Linked DNA regions of Homo sapiens: regions 2, 3 and 4 are each linked to region 1. Evidence: promoter capture Hi-C in 16 types of primary human blood cells and fetal thymus (Javierre and others, 2016). All regions are on one chromosome and are shown on one strand. Each heading gives the region's core, a stretch centred on a gene start or on the middle of the fragment in contact. The rest is flanking DNA. Distances are from core to core; before and after follow the strand shown. Region 1 holds the start of OSGIN1 (oxidative stress induced growth inhibitor 1). Region 2 overlaps DNAAF1 (dynein axonemal assembly factor 1). Region 3 overlaps HSDL1 (hydroxysteroid dehydrogenase like 1). Region 4 overlaps MBTPS1 (membrane bound transcription factor peptidase, site 1).

Region 1 (3,104 bases), core at 160-2,659:
TCCCTGCCTTCCTCCCTCTTTCCCTTCCTCCCTCTTTCCCTCCCTCTTCCCTTCCTCCTTCCTCCTTCTCTCCCTGCTTTCCTCCCTCCTTCCCTCCCTACTTCCCTCCCTCCCTGCCTTCCTCCCTCCTTCCCCCCCTGCTTCCCTCCCTACCTCCTTCCTTCCCTCCCTCCTTCCCTCCCTGCTTTCCTCCCTCCTTCCCTCCCTACTTCCCTCCCTCCCTGCCTTCCTCCCTCCTTCCCCCCCTGCTTCCCTCCCTCCCTGCCTCCCTTCTGTTTAACCGATGTTGAGTGCCTATGTGTCCTAAGCGCTGTTCTAGACACTGTGTAGAGCAGTCACGAATATACTTCCCTGCCCACACAGAGCTCACATTCTGGTTTGGGAAGAGAGACAATAAAATAATTCAGAAATAGGCCAGGTGTGGCATCTCACGCCTGTAATCCCAGCACTTTGGAAGGCTGAGGCGGGCGGATCATCTGAGGTCGGGAGTTCGAGACCAGCCTTGCCAACATGGTGAAACCCTATCTCTACCAAAAATACAAAATTAGCCGGGCGTGGTGGCACATGCCTGTAATCTCAGCTACTCAGGAGGCTGAGGCAGGGGAATCACTTGAGCCCGGGAGGCGTAGGTTGCAGTGAACCGAGATCGCGCCATTGCACCCCAGCCTGGGAAACAAGAGCGAAACTCCTTCTCAAAATAATAATAATTAAGAAACAGCAAGGTGTGGGGTGTGCAGTGCTACCCACATAAAACAGGAGAGAAGAGCCTGGGAGCAGGCTTCAAGTTCTAAGCATGGCAGACAAGAAGGATGTCATGTAAACCCTCACGGCCACTCTGGTAGAGACAATCTGTGACTTGGCCCCAGTTTTCAGATGAGGAAACTGAGGTGCGGGCCCTAAGGCAGCTTGCCAGAGCCCTGCAGCTGGGAAATGGCAAAGCTGGATTCGCAGCCCAGGCAGGCTGGTGCCAGAGGGCTTTTGGGGATTGGAGGGTGCAGTGAAATCCAGGTGGAATGCGGGAACTGGACGGGGTTTCGCCACTTAAAGGTACTGTTATTTTAACTGTGTGCGGGACAAAGCCATCTCCTCTTCGCTTATGGCAAAGGCCAGGCTGGCTCATTCAGAGGTCACTGGTTCCTCCTCCAGAGACTGAGCCCCAGGGATGGGGGTCTGGCTAGGGGGAGGTGGCTGGGAGGGAGCGCCACCCTAGGCCCCCTGGCAGGCCGCCCAGCAGGGGCCCTTTAAGGCTGGCCATGAGGCAGGCAGCGTGACACCCGCCCAGTGTGCAAGTTCATTCATCACGGGCCCCTGCTGACTCACGCTTATGAAAGTGATTTTCCTGGCCCCGCCCACTGCCTGCGCCGCCTCCTCCCTCCCCGTGAAATACCCTCACTTCCCTCTGGCCTCTCAGAGCCTCTTGGATCCCCACAGGGTAATGGGTGTCCCGATCTCGCGGGGGACTCTGTGATCCGTGTTCCCCTGACCCTCCTAGTGCACAACTTGGCCGGGCTCACTGGGCTCCTGCACCACTGCCTGTCAGGTGAGTGTCCGGGGCCAGGTTCCGGGGCAGGGAATCAGGCACATCCCAGGCACCCGTGGCAAGCCCAGCTGGACCGGAGGGTCTGCAGAGCCCTGGCGCCAGGCGGGGGTCCCGGGTGGTCCTGAGTGGAGGCCCTCGCCTGGGTTCTCTGGAGCCCGGCAGGATTCTCCCCTACACCAGGTTCCTCCCAGATCCTCAGCTGTGTCCCTGTCCAGGTGCCTGGTACCCTCAGCCAAGCAGCTGAAGCGGCCACAGTCCCAGCGTACCCTGGGCCATGTGACCGCCGCTCCTAGCAGGAAAGAGGGGTGTGGCCAGCCCGGGCTTACTGCCCAGCTGTTCCAAGGCCACTGGGTCGGCAGCCAGGCTGGGTGCCTTCTGGGTTTCTGCTTCTCCTGCTCAGGAGGGACAGAGCCCTTGGGTGCCCATGAACAGCCCCCATCCCTGGAGGTCCCAGCGACTTAGCTTCTCTCAGGAGGCTCAAGAGTGCGGCGGGTTGGGAGGGCGGCCCCTGGGAGGCTGGGGAGCTGCAGGAGACCCTGGGCTCCAGGTGTGCGGCACTGGGGCGAGGGCTCGTCTGTGATAAATGGCAAGTGCCGCTTGCGTGGACAGACCACCCCCTCACACTTTAGCGCCCCCAGGGCTTCGTGTCACTTTCTTGGTCTCCCTGTAATCAGCTGTTTTACTGGAGGGGACTTGGCAGAACTAAGATTTGTCACATGGCCGTGGTCTTGGACCCTCCTAGGTGACCTGGGGCAAGACGCCCACTCCTCCTGACCAGCTTTTCTTCCTCTGCACAATGGGGATAAGAACACCCACCTCCTGGGGTGTCTTCAAAGGCAAAGGAGTAAATGGCCACTAGAGGTGCCAAAGAAACGCAGACATACAGGTGTCCCAGAGTCTCAGAGCAGTTTGCAGCTTTAACAACCTCAGAAGTACAAATGCCGCACACTTGAAAGAAACGTCAGTCGAAGGTGCAACTGTTTTCATTTCTTTTATCCTGTTTGCCTTTGTGAAATTTGAAACATCAATTTTTAATGTTAACTTCTTTCCATCAACATCTGCCATCTTCAATTAAAGGGACTTAAAAAGATAACATTAAAAATTGATTCTTCCAACTCCGTAAAACTAAAAAGCACAAAAGGAATTGAAATGAAACTTTTGAACTCTCTTTTGTAAGTTGGCAGCATATTTGTCCGAGGTTATGAGTGACAGCGTCAAGCTGCTTCGGACTTTGGGGCGTCCTGTGTCACTCTGAACGGGAAGTGACTTCTCAGGTCCAGCCCCTGGGTGGTGACCTCATGTATGTGGCATCCAGAAGCTTCTGTTCAAGAGCCTGAGGACAGTCCCAGGAGGGAGCCCTGGACTTGGAGCCCCAAAGCCCTGGTGGTAAACCAGTGTCCTCTGCTGCCTGCAAAGGGTGGGAAGGGGCAGCCAGTTCTGATTCCTCATTGGCCAGCAGGGGCTCCTGCAAATGCCCTTCTTGGGGTGGTGGGAAAATCTGAAAGAACAAAGGAGGGGCAGGGCATGGCCCAGGGTGGGCGCACTGGGGCAGATGGAGCAGGTT
Region 2 (3,104 bases), core at 573-3,072, 200 kb after region 1:
AGGCGTGGTGGCTCACGCCTGTGATCCCAGCAATGTGGGAGGCCAAGGCAGGCAGATCAGGAGTTTGAGACCAGTCTGGCCAACATGGTGAAACCCCATCTCTACTAAAAATAACACACACAAAAATTGGCCAGGTGTGATGGTGCATGCCTGTAATCCTAGTTACTTGTGAGGCTGAGGCAGGAGAATCGCTTGAACCCAGGAGGCTGTTTGCAGTGAGCCAAGATTGTGCTACCGCGCTCCAGCCTAGGCGACAGAGCAAGATTCTGTCTCAAAAAAAAAAAAAAAAAAAAAGTTGGCTGGGCGCGGTGGCTCACACCTGTAATCCCAGCACTTTGGGAGGCCAAGGCAGGTGGATCACCTGAGGTAAGGAGTTCGAGACCAACCTGGCCAACATGGTAAAACCCCATCTCTACTAAAAATACAAAAATTAGCCAGGTGTGGTGATGGCGGGTACCTGTAATCTCAGCTACTCAGGAGGCTGAGACAGGAGAATCACTTGAACTCAGGAGGTGTAGGTTACAGTGAGCCGAGATTGTGCAATTGCACTCCAGCCTGGGCAACAGAGCCAGACTCCATCTGAAAAAAAAAAAAAAGTGACTTAAGAGACATCCACTAATTACAAGGTTTGGACCTTATTTGTATGTTGATTCAGACAGTAAACAGTTTGGAAACAAAGACAACAAAGAAATGTGACCAGTTACTGGCTGTTTGATGATGACGTTGAGGAACTGTTGTTTAGACGTCACAGTGGTGTTGTGGCTATCTTAAAGAAAAAAAAAATCCTATCTTTTATAGATACTGACTTCAGCATGAAGACCTTGGAGCAATATGGCAAATACTTCCACTATAAAAATTTTTGTGGAGAGGGTTTGCAAGGAGGGAGAGCATCAGGAGGAACAGCTAATGATGCTAGGCTTAATACCTAGGTGATGGGATGACCTATGCAGCAAACCACATGGCACACATTTACCTATGCCACAAACCAGCACATCCAGCACAGGAACCCATCAACTTAAAATAAAACTTGAAGAAATAAAATAACCAAAATTTTTGTGGAAAAAATATAGGATTTTAAAAAGTCTATCTATACAATGCCTGTGTTTAAGTGTATTCTATAACTATGTTAAATATTACTTGTGCTTATAGCAAGCTTGGAAGGCGAGAGAGAAAAATGAAAACGGATTATCTGTTGGCAGGAACATGGGTGCATTTCTTTTTATTTTGCTCACCATTGATATTAGAATTTTTTAATAAAAACTTTTTCAGGCAACAAAATAAAGAACTTTAAAAAGTGTTGGTAATAGTAGGTCAAGGCATGAATTACACATTGATGACGAGTTACTAAAGGAAACTAAAAGATTTGTTTTCCTAACCGTAAATTTGGCTCATAAAACTGAAAAAGAGAACAAAACAAGGCCCACAGTTTGCACTAGGGTCAGGCCTGGTGGGAACATTTTCAAGGCAGGGTTACCCCCACTGCACCCCCACCTCCACCCACTCCCCACCATGAAGGCAGCAGTAGGCTCCACCCTCCCAGGTGGGTAATTCCAGCAGAAAGACTACCAGTCTTTTCAGCAAGACCCCCTAGGATTCATCAAAGTTCGCCTTGCTTGGCTAAGTGTGGCCACCCCCGAATGAGTCACCGTGACTCTGATAGGCTGCCAGAGAGCCGTTGGGTGATATTAGGAAAAGGATGGTTCCTCCAAGAAAAGTTGCTACTGGAGGAAGGAGGTGTGGATGCCAGGTAGGCAGGTGTCTTAGTCCGTTTTGAGCTGCTGTAACAAGAAACCGTAGCCTGGGTGGCTTGTAGACAACAAAAATGTATTTCTCACAGTTCTGGAGGCTAGGAAGTCCAAGGTCAAGCTACTGGCAGATTTGGTGACTGGTGAGAGCTTGCTTTTTTATTCGCAGATGGCACTTTCTTGCTGTATCCTCATGGGGTGAAGATGGCAAAGAAGCTCTCTGGGGCCTCATTTATGAGACCACTAATCCCATTCCTGAGGGTTCTTCTCTCATGACCTTATCACCTCCCAAAAGTCCCACCTCCTAATACCATCACATTAGGGGTTAGGATTTCAATGTATGAATTTTGAAGGGACACAGACATTCAGTTCCTAATAGTAGGCAAAAACAAGGGTGACCGTGACCCCTCTGCCCTGGGAGTAGGAGCTTAATTCCCACGTGCTTCCTTTTTGTTAGGTTTTGATCGCATTGAGAACCTGGAAGAGTACACAGGGCTGCGCTGTCTCTGGCTGCAGAGCAATGGAATACAGAAAATCGAAAACCTGGAGGCCCAAACTGAGTTGCGTTGCCTCTTCTTGCAAATGAACTTGCTCCGTAAAATTGAGAACCTGGAACCTCTGCAGAAACTGGATGCTCTTAACCTCAGCAACAATTACATCAAGACCATTGAAAACCTCTGTAAGGGTACCCAGCAAGCAGTGTGTCTGTTTGCCATATGTCCATCACCTTCCCCTGAGGGATGTTCTAAGCTTTTATATTATGGGCAAGAAGTGGTGTTTTTTTTTGTCTTTTTTTTGTTTTTTTTTGAGACAGAGTCTTGCTCTGTCGCCCAGGCTGGAGTGCAGTGGCGCGATCTCAGCTCACTGCAAGCTCTGCCTCCCGGGTTCATGCCATTCTCCTGCCTTAGCCTCCAAAATAGCTGGGACTACAGGCACCCACCACCACACCTGGCTAATTTTTTGTATTTTTAGTAGAGACGGGGTTTCACCGTGTTAGCCAGGATGGTCTCGATCTCCTGACCTCGTGATCCGCCCGCCTTGGCCTCCCAAAGTGCTGGGATTACAGGCGTGAGCCACCATGCCCAGCCAAGAAGTGTTTTTGGTTTTGTTTTGCTTTGCTTCTTTTTGAGATGGGGTCTTGCTCTGTCACCCAGGCTGAAATGCAGTGGTGCAGTTAGAGCTCACTGCAGCCTTGACCTCCTGGTCTCAAGCGATCCTCCCACGTCAGCCTCCCAGGTGGCTGAGACCACAGGCATGTGCCACCAGACCTGGCAAGTTTTTCTACTTTTTGTGGATATGGGGTCTCACTGTGTTGCCCAGGCTGGTCTCAAACCTCCTGGGCTCGAAAGATTCTCCCGC
Region 3 (3,104 bases), core at 271-2,770, 180 kb after region 1:
GGACAAAAGCCCATTCCAATCCCAGGAGCCCTTGGGGAAACACCGCCCAGGCACCAGGCCGGCATCGGGGAAGAGAGCAGCCACAGCTGTCCTCGGTGCCTTTTTCTGCCTGGTGCCTGTCTGGGTTTCACCTGGGCCTCCCACTGCCTCACTCTGCACACCCCTTCTTCAGCTCCACCTGCAGCGTTCCCTGGAACATCCACATTGCCACGGGCTGCCCTGGCTTCTCTTTCCAAATTCCTGGCAGGGATTCTGGCTCGCCCACCTTAGTTCAGGTGCCCACCACCTGTCTAATCTCCTGGCAGGGTGGCAGGGAGGAAGGCGTCCTACAGTGTTTGGGGGCAGCCCCCCTAGGCTGTGAGTGGGTCAGATGCTTTAAGGAGGAAATGAAAGGAAACCCCTGGTCCACATTTTCCCTCTCCTCCACCACACACACTGCATTGCAACTGTTCTGTCTCTGACCACCCCAGCAGGCTATAGTCCTCCAGGGCAGAGGCCAGATTCTACTCCTCTCTGTTTCTCCAGCACCTTCCACAATTCCTGGCACAAAGAAGCTCAACACTACCAAGTCTCTGGCTGCAGCTCACAGGCAGTCTTCCTGTCCAGCGCTCAGCCCTCAGCTCAGGAGCGGACCACCCACAAATTCCTTTGATCCTTTACAGAAAGAAAAGCTTGTGTGCTAAACCCACCAGGGACCTCCCACTCAGGCCAGCAGAGGAGATGCACCCACTGCAGAGGTGAGTACAGGAACCTGGGGCTGAGGGGCTTCAAGCCCATCATGGCCCAGCTTCTCAACGCCCCCACTAGACACCCCTCACCTCTTGTCAGGGGAGCGCCATCGTGTGCAAGTACCTTAAACGTGTGTTAATATTATTGTTGCTATGTATATTTTAAAAATCACAGAGCATCAGGGGGGCTGATGGCATTCAAGGTCTGGTCCTCAGCCTTGATGGATAGAAACCCAAGTTCTTCATTCCTTAGAGGCAGCTCAAGACAAAGAAATCTGACTCACATCCACAAAACCCACAGAAGACTGATACATTCAAATGCCAAGTTAGGAATGGATAGTGAACAACACAGCGAAGAGGCCTAAACACACACGGTCACTGGTCCTACAGTCTCTCGAGATCTACATGGAAAACCAAACTTCTAGAACAGCAATGAAAAATACAAAGTGTCAGAGACTGAGGACACCATCATGAATAAACCAGGACTCCGTGCCACCCGGTATACACAGAAGTCAGAGAAAGATAAACGGAGCAACTGCAACATGAGGTGGCAAGGGCGCCACTGGGGTGAAATGGGTCTTGAAGTGTGAGCAGAATTTCTGGGCAGAGAGGAGGGAAGGGACCTCCCTGGCCCGGGCCCATGGAGAAAGGCTCGGCACCGTCAAGGGTCTGGCCTACTCGGGAAACATTAGGAAGTCCCCCGCATGCACAGCACAGGCTGTGCTGTCCTGTGTGACGCCCCATGTGTGCAGGCGCACAGGCGTGAAGGAGACTGGGAGAGGCAGACTGGAGATGCCTTCACGCCAGACTGGAGTGCATGGACCTCCTCCTTGAGCACCAAGGGAGGGAGCTGGTGGGGCTTGTTTAGGAAGGTAACGCAGCAGGGGAGGAGGGGGGCTCCTGAGCCCTGGTTACTCAGCTGGGGATGAAGGAGGGCCACACGGAGAGCCAAGGCTCTGTGGCCTCTGCTGCTCCTCAGCCTTGCCAGACACTTCACACATTCACTCACACCCTGATGGGCCAAAGATGTTAGAGAACTGGAAATTAAAACTCATTCCCTGCTCTCAATCTTCTTCCCCACCCTTCTGTACATGATGGAAAATAACATTTTTCTCATGACAAAAGAAATCAGTACTTTCCCCAGAGCCACCAAATTTCAAAAGCTCATAGCCTCTCACTGAAACTTTCAAAGGAATTTATCACACATTTAAGCCTAGAAGTCCACTTAGGCATATGTAGATAACAAGCCTCGTCAAAGTTACTTTAGGTATCTGACTAGTTACTGTTTTGTGGCTTGATTAGCGAAAGCTATTAACCTGTGCTACGGTCTGAGCGTTCCGCCCCACTCCCTGATTCTTGTCTTGAATCTTAACCCCCCAGGTGATGGTTTAGAAGGGAGGGCCTTTGGGAGGCGATCAGATAATGAGGGCTCCACCACCTTGATCTTGGACCATTCAGCCTCCCAAACTGCGAAAAGTAAGTGTTTGCTGTTTCCAAGCCACCCAGTTCATGGTATTTTGTTATAGCAGCTCAAAACCAACTAAGGCAGCCTGCAACCTAGAGAAACCCATGATGTGGAAAGCAATACTAAAACACAGTAAAATTCTGATTCATGTACAATCTACCTGCAAGAACTTATTCTAAAGCTTTATTTTCTTAAACAGAGAGTAGAATGGTGGTTGCTAGAGGTGGGGTCATGGGTGGGAAGTTTTGGTCAAAGGGGTATAAACTTTCAAATATAAAATGCATACGTCTGGAGAGCTAATGTACAGTACAGTGACCATAGTGAGCAATACCAAATTGTAGGCTTAAAATCTGCTTAGAGGGTAGATCTCAAGTGTTCTCACCATAAAGAAATAAAAAAGTAACTGAGGTGATGAATGTGTTAACTAATTTGGTTGTGGTGATCATTTCACAAAGTATACATATATCAAATCATGTTGTACACCTTAAATTTATATAATTTTATTTGTCAATTATACTTCGATGAAGTTGGAAAAATATAAAATAATTTAAAAAAATTTTTAAGCTTTGTTTTCTCATCTCTGCAGAAAACTAAAACATCTGTGAACAAAACAAAACCACAACTGTCCCCAAACTAGGAAAAGAAGAGCAAGTCCCTATTATCTTTTAAGCATTTTCTACTTCTACAGGGCAGGAGTCATCAAAAACCTACAGGAAACGTTACAACTACAAAAGCGTCACGGGACAATTATGGTCAAAACTGCAAGTAGCAAAGTCACCTCTTCAAAGCACCACTGCTGTGGCCTGTAACATGATCCCACTCCACAGTGAAGGGGACTCCACCTAGCAGTGTAAAGGGCAATCAACTCAAATAGAAAAACCTTCATGTACCAAGAGTTCTGGGAGGAAAGT
Region 4 (3,104 bases), core at 429-2,928, 150 kb after region 1:
TGGGGCTGGGCGCGGTGGCTCACGCCTGTAATCCCAGCACTTTGGGAGGCTGACGTGGGCAGATTACGAGGTGAGGAGTTTGAGACCAGCCTGGCCAACATAGTGAAACCCCATCTCTACTAAAAATACAAAAAATTAGCTGGGTGTGGTGGTGGGCGCCTATAATCCTGGGAGGCTAAGGCAGGAGAATCACTTGAACCTGGGAGGCGGAGATTGCAGTAAGCAGAGATTGCACCACTGCACTCCTGCCTGGTGACAGAGCAAGCCTCCGTCTCAAAAAAAAAAAAAAAAAGATCTCTATGAATCACCTAACCACAAAGAATACATCATTCGAAACCAGATACCCGTGATATTTTTTTAAAAAGCAAATACCTACAGAAGTTTGAATACACAACAAAGAAATGTATATAATTTTTATCAAGTAGGAAAAAGAAATTCAGAGAACTGAATGCTCAGTTAGTGTTTCTTAAAACGAAAACAGTAACAAAATTCCAGAGTGGATTATGTGAGACTATTTGCTCAGTTCTTCACATCTGGTCACTCAAACTTTAGAACATAAACATTCTGCACCTCCCAGCTCCCCACCTTCACCAATTACAATGGCACCTGTTCCAAAGAATCAAGGTGTAGGCTGGGCACAGTGGCTCATGCCTATAATCCCAGCATTCTGGGAGGTCGAAGTGGATGGATTGCTTGAGCTCAGGAGTTTAAGACCAGCCTGGGCAACATGGTGAAACAAAAAATAAAAAAATTAGCTGGGCAGGCCGGGCACAGTGGCTCATGCCTGTAATCCCAACACTTTGGGAGGCCAATGCAGGAGGATCACCTGAGGTCAAGAGTGCAAGACCAGCCTGACCAACATGGAGAAACGCAGTCTCTACTAAAAAGACAAAATTAGCCGGGCATGGTGGCACATGCCTGTAATCCCAGCTACTCGGGAGGCTGAGGCAGGAGAATCGCTTGAACCTGGGAGGTGGAGGTTGCGGTGAGCTGAGATGGTGCCATTGCACTCCAGCCTGGGCAACAAGAGTGAATCTCCATCTCAAAAAAGAAAAAAGAAAAAACAAAAATAAAAAAATTAGCTGGGCACGGTGGCAGGTGCCTGTAGTCCCAGCTACTCAGGAGGCTGAAGTGGGAGACCACTTGTGCCTGGGAGGCCAAGGCTGCAATGAGCTGAGATGGCACCACTGCACTCCAGCCTGGGCGACAAGAGCAAAACTCTGTCTCCAAAAGAAAAAGAAAAGAAGGTGTAGGTAAATAATTCATGTCAATTTCCTTTTATCATATAAGCTTACTCTACTGGGAAAACAAACTTAAGCAAAGTTAACATTCATGTGCTGTGCACTCAACCCATTGGAAATTTACTACAGAAGGCCAGGCACGGTGGCTCATGCCTGTAATCCCAGCACTTTGGGAGGCCAAGGAGGGTGATCACTTGAGGTCAGGAGTTCAAGACCAGCCTGGCTAACATGCTGAAACCCCGTCTCTACTAAAAATACAAAAAAAAAAAAAAAAAAAGGCCTGGCACGATAGTTCATGCCTGTAGTCCCAACACTCTGGGAGGCCAAGGCAGGCGGATCACGAGGTCAGGAGCTCGAGACCAGCCTGGCCAATGTGGTGAAACCCCATCTCTACTAAAAATAGAAAAAATTAACTGGGAGTTGTGGCGGGTGCCTGTAGTCCCAGCTGCTCAGGAGGCTGAGGCAGGAGAACTGCTTGAACCTGGGAGGTGGAAGTTGCAGTGAACCGAGATCGTGCCATTGCACTCCAGCCTCAGCAACAGAGTGAGACTCCATCTCAAAAACAAAACAAAACAAAACAGAACAAATCAAAACAAAAAATTAGCCAGGGACGGTGGCAGTCACCTATAATCCCAGCTACTTGGGAGGCTGAGGCATGAGAATTGCTTGAATCCAGGAGGTGGAGGTTACAGTGAGCCGAGATCATGCCACTGCACTCCAGCCTGGGTGACAGAGTGAGACTCTGTCTCAAAAAAAAAAAAAAGAAAGAAATTTACTGTAGAAAAGAGGAACATGTTATTCAGCAATAGCTAATTTTATATTAAGTAAGCTTTAAAAAAATAGGATGGGAGTTCCTAATACTTAAGACAACATCATTACCATATTCCACAACTGTTGATGAGAATTCCACCTTCAAAGTCAGGTGGGAACAGCCAGGGCATGGGGCCTTTTCAAAAGATTTCTTTTCCAGTCTGTCGCCCAGATGTTTCTTCCCACAGAGCAAAACCACGAGCAGAAGCAGCCAGATGTTGACAAGCTTCATGGTCACAAGCGAATATGATCATAAAATTGCATATATTCAAATCACACTTTTTTCTTCTTGATTAAAAGTGAATTTTTGTTTCAGCTAAAAGCTGCAACATTACTAATCAGCCATCTTACAGTCTTGCCCAACATAAATAAAAGTTAAATCCCATGGCCTTTTGTGGTTCAGCCTGAAGAGAGGCTTTCATTTCTTTCTCCGCTTCTTCTCCATCTTGGAAATAAGGCTTCTCTCACTCAGGCCGTGACGACTGAGTCCTGTACTCCATTTGTACCACAGAACCAACGTCCAATGGGGTTGATCAATCAACCACTGTGAGCCAATCTATGAAACAAAAAACAGTGCACACAGACATTAGTAGCAAACTGACATAGCCAGGTATGATTTAGTTGTATTTATAATTTAAGCAAGTGGGTCAGCCAGGCAAGGTGGCAGGTGCCTGTAGATCAGCTGCTTGGGAGGCTGAGGTGGGAAGATCACTTGAGCCCAGGAGTCTGAGTCCAGCCTGAGCAACAAAGTGAGACCCTATGTCTAAAATAATAAAATAATAAAATAAATAAGAGGGTAAAAGAGATATCCTGGTTTTAAGACAAATTAATGTGCCATACAACCATGAAACATATTATTTCATTTTTATTTACTTATTACTCACTGCTTTCACGGGAAAATTTTTTTTAGGCATCTTCAAAAATAAAACAATAAAATCAATGAGAAAAATGGAAAAAAGTAAGGACAACAAAATAACACCAAAAATATTAAGCACACTGGACCTGAGCATTCTAGCAGCCAAAGAGAAGAAGGCATCAGGATGATCCTTTGTT

Evidence for each region. Contacts are between HindIII fragments. The CHiCAGO score rates a contact against its expected background, and 5 or more counts as called.
Region 2: a fragment that was not itself captured here is called in contact with the fragment with the promoter of OSGIN1 in region 1 in 2 of 17 cell types (monocytes and megakaryocytes); the score reaches 6.5 in monocytes.
Region 3: a contact is called between a fragment that was not itself captured here and the fragment with the promoter of OSGIN1 in region 1, in 1 of 17 cell types (neutrophils). The highest score is 5.3, in neutrophils.
Region 4: a fragment that was not itself captured here is called in contact with the fragment with the promoter of OSGIN1 in region 1 in 1 of 17 cell types (M2 macrophages); the score reaches 5.9 in M2 macrophages.

The regions. Positions count from the first base shown.
Region 1 is chr16:83,951,831-83,954,934 of GRCh38, forward strand. It overlaps OSGIN1 (oxidative stress induced growth inhibitor 1), which reads left to right and starts at 1,410. Exons shown (of 6, transcript NM_182981.3): 1 at 1,410-1,540. RefSeq lists a silencer at 1,685-1,734 and an enhancer at 2,223-2,992. The HindIII fragment of the contact is 5,629 bases long and covers 1-2,856 here.
Region 2 is chr16:84,152,375-84,155,478 of GRCh38, forward strand. It overlaps DNAAF1 (dynein axonemal assembly factor 1), which reads left to right. Exons shown (of 12, transcript NM_178452.6): 4 at 2,203-2,424. Among named protein-coding and RNA genes, the nearest start is that of DNAAF1, 8.6 kb to the left of the region's middle. The HindIII fragment of the contact is 1,342 bases long and covers 1,152-2,493 here.
Region 3 is chr16:84,135,899-84,139,002 of GRCh38, forward strand. All of the region lies in intron 1 of HSDL1 (hydroxysteroid dehydrogenase like 1), which reads right to left. Among named protein-coding and RNA genes, the nearest start is that of HSDL1, 7.7 kb to the right of the region's middle. RefSeq lists enhancers at 1-245, 1,440-2,035. The HindIII fragment of the contact is 1,703 bases long and covers 670-2,372 here.
Region 4 is chr16:84,099,501-84,102,604 of GRCh38, forward strand. MBTPS1 (membrane bound transcription factor peptidase, site 1) reads right to left here. Exons shown (of 23, transcript NM_003791.4): 2 at 2,121-2,607. The coding sequence starts at 2,283. Among named protein-coding and RNA genes, the nearest start is that of MBTPS1, 16 kb to the right of the region's middle. The HindIII fragment of the contact is 780 bases long and covers 1,289-2,068 here.